Regions from separate parts of the Homo sapiens genome. Here region 2 is linked to region 1. The links are contacts of gene promoters, found by promoter capture Hi-C in blood cells and fetal thymus (Javierre and others, 2016). All regions are on one chromosome and are shown on one strand. Each heading gives the region's core, a stretch centred on a gene start or on the middle of the fragment in contact. The rest is flanking DNA. Distances are from core to core; before and after follow the strand shown.

Evidence for each region. The method cuts DNA at HindIII sites, captures the fragments that hold promoters and counts their contacts. A CHiCAGO score of 5 or more calls a contact.
Region 2: a contact is called between a fragment that was not itself captured here and the fragment with the promoter of CAPN12 in region 1, in 1 of 17 cell types (erythroblasts). The highest score is 5.1, in erythroblasts.

The regions. Positions count from the first base shown.
Region 1 is chr19:38,743,195-38,747,579 of GRCh38, reverse strand. CAPN12 (calpain 12) reads left to right here and starts at 3,106. Exons shown (of 21, transcript NM_144691.4): 1 at 3,106-3,651. The coding sequence starts at 3,415. The HindIII fragment of the contact is 36,048 bases long and covers 705-4,385 here.
Region 2 is chr19:38,538,218-38,542,813 of GRCh38, reverse strand. All of the region lies in intron 84 of RYR1 (ryanodine receptor 1), which reads right to left. Among named protein-coding and RNA genes, the nearest start is that of MAP4K1-AS1, 56 kb to the left of the region's middle. The HindIII fragment of the contact is 8,158 bases long and covers 1-4,596 here.

The DNA.
Region 1 (4,385 bases), core at 1,857-4,356:
CCACTTTTGGTAGCCATGTACGTAGGCAGCTTGGACAATATCTGTGGGTCCACTTGGAGGGAAGGAGGCCAGAAGGCTTGAGGGACATCTGAGTGGCATGGAGGTGACAAGGCTCTGGGAGGGCAGCAGACACTCTTGAACGCCAAGGCATGGTCAATGCCTCGTGCAGTGAGCAGCGACTCTGTGTCAGGCACTTCTCTGAACTCATCCCACGTACGAACTCATTCGCTTCCCACAGCAACCCTCCGAGGTACGCCCTATCATCATCCGCATTGCAGAGATGAGGAAACTGAAGCACAGAGAAGTTAAGTGATGTGCCCAAAGACACACAGGTGTAGGTGGCAGAGCTGGGATTGGACCCCAGGTGCTGTGGCTCCTAATCCCGGCAGGCTGGAAGCACTCCCATATGACTCCCGTGGGGCTGGGGTGGGCTTGGCAATCCTACACGAAGAAAACTTTTTTTTTTTTTTTTTTGAGATGGAGTCTCACTCTCTCACCCAGGCTGGAGTGCAGTGGCGTGATCTTGGCTCACTGCAACCTCCGCCTCCCAGGTTCAAGCGATTCTCCTGCCTCACCCTCCTGAGTAGCTGGGATTACAGGTGTGTACCACCATGCCCAGCTAATTTTTTTTTTTTTTTTTTTTTTTGAGACAGAGTCTTGCTCTGTCAACCAGGCTGGAGTGCAGTGGCGGCTCACTGCAAGCTTCGCCTCCTGGGTCCACGTCATTCTCCTGCCTCAGCCTCCCGAGTAGCTGGGACTACAGGTGGCCGCCACCATGCCTGGCTAATTTTTTGTATTTTTTGTAGTAGAGATGGGGTTTCACCGTGTTAGCCAGGATGGTCTTGATCTCCTGACCTCGTGATCTGCCTGCTTTGGCCTCCCAAAGTGCTGCTGGGATTACAGGCTTGAGCCACCGTGCCCGGCCTTTTTTTTTTTTTTTTTGAGATGGAGTTTTGCTCTCTTGCCGAGGCTGGAGTGCAGTGGTGCAGTCTTGGCTCACTGAAACCTCCACCTCTCGGGTTCAAGCGATTCTCCTACCTCAGCCTCCTGAGTAGCTGGGATTACAGGTGCGTGCCACCACACCCAGCTAATTTTTTTGTATTTTTTAGTAGAGATGGGGTTTCACCATGTTGGCCAGGCTGGTCTGGAACTCCTGACCCGCCCGTCTCGGCCTCCCAAAGTGCTGGGATTACAGGCGTAGTAAACTACCGCGTCCAGCCTAATTTTTGTATTTTTAATAGAGATGGTGTTTCACCATGTTGGCCAGGCTGGTCTTGAACTCCTGGCCTCAAGTGTTCTGCCCACCTCAGCCTCCCAAAGTGCTGGGATTACGGGCATGAGCCACCATGCCCGGCCCTGTTTTGGGGGGTTTTTTGAGATGCAGTCTTGCCCTGTTGCCCAGGCTGGAGTGCAGTGGCACAATCTCGGCTCACTGCAACCTCCGCCTCCCAGATTCAAGCGGTTCTCCTGCCTCAGCCTTCTGAGTAGCTGGGATTACAGGTGCCCGCAACTATGTCCGGCTAATTTTTGTATTTTAGTAGAGACGGAGTTTCACTACATTGGCCTGGCTGGTCTCGAACTCCTGACCTCAGGTGATCTGCCTGCCTCGGCCTCCCAAAGTGCTGGGATTACAGGCATGAGCCACCACGCCCAGCCAGAAAGCCTGTTTTGTAACCCACTTTTGGTAGCCGTGTACGTGGGTGGCTTGGACAATATTTGTGGGTCCACTTGGAGGGAAGAAGGCCAAAAGGCTTGAGGGACATCTGAGTGGCGTGGAGGTGACAAGGCTCTGGGAGGGCAGCAGACACCCTCAACGAGGGTGGAAGGTCTGCTGGGACCAGCACTGCTGAGGCTCTGGCATCTCCGTACCTGTTTCTCCCATTTCCTCCAATGGCTCCAGAGTCCTTTGGGGGAAATACTGCTCCATCCAGACTCTGAGTGGCGTGGGCCAGGGCAGGGCATCATGGTCACCAGATGGCTCCCAGCACAGGAGAGGTACAGAGCCATCCCTCCAGGGTCAGCCTCCCTGGGCAAGCAGGCTGAGTCTACCTTGTCCGGGAGGGGAGGAGGCGCATCCTGAGGGCTTAGGGGGCGTGAGCGGAGGGGAGCTCAGGGTCCCTCGGTGGATGATGGAGGAGCCACATATGGGTTACAGGGACAGACAGAAAGATGGAGAGGAAGAGACAGGGAGGCAGACACAAGGTACACTGACAGGGTCTGAAGGAGGAGGGGCTGGGGGCCTGGACTCCTGGGTCTGACAGGTACAGAGAGGAACAGACACACGCTGAAAGAGACACAAAGAGAGAGGGGACAGGCATAGTGATTCACGCCTGTAATCCCAACACTTTGGGAGGCCAAGCGGGGAGGATCACTTGAGCCCAGGAGTTCGAGACCAGTCTGGGCAACAAAGTGAGATCCCCGCCCCATCTCTACAAAAAAAAAAAAAAAAAAAAAAAGAGGGTGGGGTGGGGAGAGGGGTGGAGTTGGGGAAATACAGAGACACAAATATTGCCAGAAACAAAAAACAAGAAAGGGCCAGGCACAGTAGCTCACATCTGTAATCCCAGCTCTCTGGGAGGCTGCTGAAGCAGGAGGATCACTTGAGGCCAGCAGTTCAAGACCAGCCTGGGGAACATATGGGACCGCCCCCCGCCACCCCTCTGTCTCTACTTTAAAAAAAATTTTTTTTAATTAACAAAACCTGACCAGGCACAGTGGCTCACGTCTGTAATCCCAGCACTTTGGGAGGCCAAGGTGGGCGGATTGCTTGAGGCCAGGAGTTCAAGACCAGCCTGGTCAACATGGTAAAATCCCTTCTCTAACAAAAAATACAAAAATTAGCTGGGCATGGTGACACGAGCCTGTAATCCCAGCTACTTGGGAGGCTGAGGCAGGAGAATCACTTGAACCTAGAAGGCGGAGGTTGCAGTGAGCTGAGATCGTGCCACTGCACTCCAGAAACTGATGGAGAAGAAACATGAAGGCGGGGAGAGAGAAACTGTCAGAGGGAGGGGGAGAGAGGCAGTCTGAGAGATAGAGACACCGAGGTAAACCCGCCTCCTTCCCCAGCCCCACAGGCATAAGTAGGCAGAAGCTCACCCCCACACTGACCTCCTTCTTGGTGCTCTGACAGCGGCAGCCGGTCCTCCCTCAGCTCTGCCCGCCTTCTCTCCTGCTGCTGGCCAAGCCCATTAAGCTGCTACCTTGGCCACAACTGAAGGCCCCACGCCCTGGGAAGAAAGCTACTGAAGAGGCGTCCCTGCTCCCCAGCACCCCAAACCATCAATTAATATTAACGAGGGAAGGCTCCTCATTGCCTAAAGACCCCACTGGGGCTCCAATGGAAGAGAGGCCCCGCCCCCGTGACTCAGGAGGTTAAAGGGCCTGGTGCCGGCTTGTGAGGCCAGTGTCCAGATGGCATCCAGCAGTGGGAGGGTCACCATCCAGCTCGTGGATGAGGAGGCTGGGGTCGGAGCCGGGCGCCTGCAGCTTTTTCGGGGCCAGAGCTATGAGGCAATTCGGGCAGCCTGCCTGGATTCGGGGATCCTGTTCCGCGACCCTTACTTCCCTGCTGGCCCTGATGCCCTTGGCTATGACCAGCTGGGGCCGGACTCGGAGAAGGCCAAAGGCGTGAAATGGATGAGGCCCCATGTAAAGTGTGGCTGGGGTCTGGGCTCTGGGGTCTGAGGGAGGAGGGGCTGGAGGCATGGACTCCTGGGTCTGAGGAAGGAAGGCTGGGGGCCTGGACTCCCTGGTCTGAGGGAGGAGGGGCTCGAGACCTGGACTCTTAGGTCTGAGGGAGGAGGGGCTGGGCCTGGACTCCTGGGTCTGAGGGAGGAAGGGCTGGGCCTGGACTCTTGGGTCTGAGGGAGGAGGGGCTGGGGACCTGGACTCCTGGGTCTGAGGGAGGAGGGGGCTTGGACCTGGACTTCTGGATCTGAGGGAGGAGAGGCCAAGGCCTGGACACCTGGGTCTGAGGGAAGAGGGGGCTGGGGACCTGGACTCCGGGGTCTGAGGGAGGAGGGGCTGGACCTGGACTCCTGGGTCTGAGGGAGGAGGGGCTGGGGACCTGGATTCTTGGGTCTGAGGGAGGAGGGGCTCGGGACCTGGACTCCTGGGTCTGAGGGAGGAGGGGCTGGGCCTGGACTCCTGGGTCTGAGGGAGGAGGGGCTCGGGACCTGGACTCCTGGGTCTGAGGGAGGAGGGGCTGGGCCTGGACTCCTGGGTCTGAGGGAGGAGGGGCTCGGGACATGGACTCCTGGGTCTGAGGGAGGAGGGGCTGGGCCTGGACTCCCGGGTCTGAGGGAGGAGGGGGCTACCATGGGACTGGCTCAGCACAACTTCTGGAGACCCAGGGAAGCCATGCTCCTGCCCACAGGCTTCCA
Region 2 (4,596 bases), core at 483-2,982, 200 kb after region 1:
AGCGGTGGCTCACACCTGTAATCCCAGCACTTTGGGAGGCCCAGGTGGGTGGATCACTTGAGGTCAGGAGTTTGAGACCAGCCTGGCCAACATGGTGAAATCCCGTCTCTACTAAAAAAAATACAAAATTAGCCAGGTGTGGTGGCATGTGCCTGTAATCCCAGCTACCTGGGAGGCTGAGGCAGGAGAATTGCTTGAACCCGGAAGGCAGAGGTTGCAGTGAGCCTAGATCATGCCACTGCACTCCAGCTTGGGCAACAAGAGTGAAACTCCGTCTCAAAAAATAAATAAATATAAAAAAATAAAATATAAATATTATTGAGGGCCTGCTATGTGTCAAATGTGGTGGAGCGTCATTTATTCATTCAGTTTTTTCCAACAAATTTGTATATTGACCACCAACTATGTAGCAGGGAGAAATAGAGATTCAGTTCCTCGTTAGTTTCCAAACAATTTTATCAAATTCCTCCTATGTGCTGGGGATATTCATGCATTTATCCAACAAATATTTATTGAGCACCTACTAAAGGCCAGGGAACATATGGATTGGTCACTTGTTCATTTATTCAACATATTTTATTGAGTGTATACTACATCCTCACGAGATTAAGATTGTCACATCCTCTTTGCTACAACAAATTTGTTGCGTTCTTACTATGTGTCATGCAGTATTCTAGGCTCTGGGGATACAGTAGTAAAAAAAAAAAAAACAGTCCCCGGCCTTGGGGGGGATTTTTTTTTTTTTTTGACAAGGTCTCCCTCTGTTGCCTAGGTTGGAGTACTGTGGCATGATCATAGCTCACTGCAGCCTTGACCTCCTGGGTTCAAGTGGTCCTCCCACCTCAGCCTCCCAGGTAGCTGGAACTATAGGTGTGAGCCACCACATCCGGCCAATTTTTAATTTTTTTGTTGAGACCAGCCCAGGCTGGTCTCGAACTCCTGGCCTCAAGCAACCCTCCTACCTTGACCTCCCATAGTGCTGGGATTACAGACATGAGCCGTATGTCCAGCCCCTGCCCTTGTGAAGTTTATATTCTTGTGCAGTAATTTTTTAATCTTTTCTGACTGCAATCTATGGTAGGAAATCCTTTTTTTTTTGAGATACAGTCTTGCTCTGTCACCCAGGCTGGAGTGCAGTGGCATGATCTCAGTTCACTGCAAACTCTGCCTCCCAGGTTCAAGCAATTCTCCTGCCTCAGCCTCCTGAGTAGCTGGGATTACAGGCATGCGCCACCACGCCCGGCTAATTTTTTTGCATTTTTAGTAGAGACAGGGTTTCACCATATTGGACAGGCTGGTCTCCAACTCCTGACCTTGTGATCCACCTGCCTCGGCCTCCCAAAGTGCTGGGATTACAGGTGTAAGCCACCACACCCAGCCGAGGAAATCCTTTTTACATTGAGACCTGATACATGTGTTCAATCTGAAATTATATTCACCTATTCCCGAAAGAGAAGTTTCACATTGCCTTACTCTGTGCCATGCATTCTGTTCTTTTCTGTCCTGTACTGCTCTAGTTAACTACAAAAGAAGAAGTGTGTGCTTCTCATCCTCTCAACCTTGGCTGCACATCAGGACAACTAGGAGGCTTTTAAAAACCCCAGTGCTCAGGCCCAACCCCAGATCAATTGAATTAGAACCTGTAAAGGCAAAACCTGGGCTTAAGTCTCTTTTAAAGCTCCCCAGGCATGCCAGTGTACAATTACAATGAGAACCTCTGCGTGAAACTGATTCATGAACGTCTGTCTGATGGGTTGGTTCCCACTATTTAAAAAACATTGTTCTGTGAAAGCAAACTGTTAAAGCTGAGTGATGGGTAGTTGGGGGTTTATTATACTGTAATATATGATTGGAGGTTTATTACACTGTAGTATATGATTGGAGGTTTATTACACTGTAGTATATGATTGGAGGTTTATTACACTGTAGTATATGATTGGAGGTTTATTACACTGTAGTATATGATTGGAGGTTTATTACACTGTAGTATATGATTGGAGGTTTATTACACTTTAGTATATGATTGGAGGTTTATTACACTGTAGTATATGATTGGAGGTTTATTACACTGTAGTATATGATTGGAGGTTTATTACACTGTAGTATATGATTGGAGGTTTATTACACTGTAGTATATGATTGGAGGTTTATTACACTGTAGTATATGATTGGAGGTTTATTACACTGTAGTATATGATTGGAGGTTTATTACACTGTAGTATATGATTGGAGATTTATTACACTGTAGTATATGATTGGAGGTTTATTACACTGTAGTATATGATTGGAGGTTTATTACACTGTAGTATATGATTGGAGGTTTATTATACTGTAGTATATGATTGGAGGTTTATTATACTGTAGTATATGATTGGAGGTTTATTATACTGTAGTATATGATTGGAGGTTTATTATACTGTAGTATATGATTGGAGGTTTATTATACTGTAGTATATGATTGGAGGTTTATTATACTGTAGTATATGATTTTTTTTTTTTTTGGTAGAGACAGGGTCTCCTTATGTTGCCCAGACTTGTCTTGAACTGCTGGGCTCAAGTGATCCTCCTGCCTCAGCCTCCTAAAGTGCTGGGATTACAGGCATGAGCCACAGTGCCCAGCCAAGTCCTTTTAAATGTTTATAGCAACATCATGTTGCACAGGAAGGTTTTAACAGCCCCTGAAAGTATTTTTGCCCCCCGTTTTTCTTTCCCCTTAACTTTTTTACAGTCAGTTCACAATTGCTCTATCAGGTTGGCTCAACAGAAGGCCCATTTTGCCTAGTTTCATGACATAGACAAAGCATACTCAAATATTCAAAATTTTATAAGCAAAGGTACAGGTTTTCCCATCAACCCTGCTTTCTAACTCCTTTATTTGTGTTAATTTAAATTGTTAAATTAAATTGTGTTAATTTAAATTGGGCTATATGCAAAAATAAAAGATACACAGCTCCTGTAAAAAAAATTCTGGCAACTGACAACACCTGTTATAGACATGTGCAAATAAGTGAGAGACAAACCTTTTGTCTGCTTTGAATAGCACTGACTCCTCAAGACATGCAAGGGGTCTGAGATTTGAAAGATATTTCAAATATCTATTTGATTAGGTCATGAATTTAGGCGAGGACTGGGTTGCAAATATGTTGGGAGACAGCAATCCCTTTCATAACAACATTCTCATTTTCAAAACTTCATATTCCTGAGGAATAAAATTTATTTTAAACCCAAAGACTGATTCCATCTTAGTTAAAATTAAAGAATGAAAATCTTAGTCCCGGCTGGGTATGGTGGCTCACACCTGTAATCCCAGCATTTTAGGAGGCCAAGGCAGGAGGATTGCTTGAATCCAGGAGTTTGAGATCCCCTGGGCAACACAGTGAGATCTCATCTCTACAAAAAATAAAAAACTTAGCCAGACATGGTGATGCATGCCTGTAGTCCTGGATACTCGGGAGGCTGAGGGGTGGATTACTTGAGCCCAGGAGGCAGAGGTTGCAGCGAGCTGTGATCACACCACTGCACTCCAGTCTGGGCGACAAGAGTGAGACTCTGTCTAAAAAAAAAAAAAAAAAAAAGAAAAAATCTTAGTCCCATGGCACAAAGGTATTTAATAAACCTTGAAAAACTCGTTGTGGACACAAGAGCTTTTGAAAATTCAAGACAAAGAGATCATACTTTATCCTTTGTTGAAAGAAAAAGAATGAAGATTAAAGATATTTACAAATCAGTTACCTTAAAGAGCACTAACCAAGTGGGTGAAGGTTCTATGGAAGTAAGATTACTAATTACTCCAATTCTTGTCACGAAAGTTGATTTCCGGGTAGTCTGTGGTTTCCTAATCACCTGCTAAAGGTTATAACCACAATCTTGAGACTGTACATGTTTGTTATAGGAAATGGCATTGGGTAGAATGTTTTTTGTGCAGAATTTTGTCTGTTCTGTAAAGTTGTAAGCTAGGTTTGCTGCATGAGACTGCATTTCTCATCATTGATGTTGTGTAATTAATTTGCTGTCATCCTCAATCTTGTTAAATTGGCTGAACCACAACAAAACAAAACTCTTGCTTAAGATAGGAAAGAATCTGTAGGCCTTTGTACAGATCTTTCCTCTGCAAAGATTTTATAAGCAAAATAAACAAGTGATTCTAATAGATTTATTTTTAAATGCCAGGCAGTTTTTTCCCTTAGGTCTTTTCTGGACCTAAAGTACAGAAATCCACCACGTGTATAGAACTTTGGCAGCCACTGCAGAGCGCCTGTGGGAAAATAGCATGTGACAAATTGTCCATTTGGGCAAATTGATTTTTGGCCAAATTGGTTTTTGGCAGGTTGCTTTTGGGGAATTGGACTGGCCAGAGGAGATGAGGGGGAAACAAAGTGGCTAGATTCCAGAAATTCCAGCGAGGTTTTTTTTTGAGATGGAGTTTTGCTCTGTTGCCCAGGCTGGAGTGCAATGGTGCGATCTTGGCTCACTGCAACCTCCATCTCATGGGTTCAAGCGATTCTCCTGCCTCAGCCTCCTGAGTAGCTGGGACTACAAGCATGTGCCACCACGCCCTGCTATTTTTTTTATATTTTTAGTAGAGACGGGGTTTCA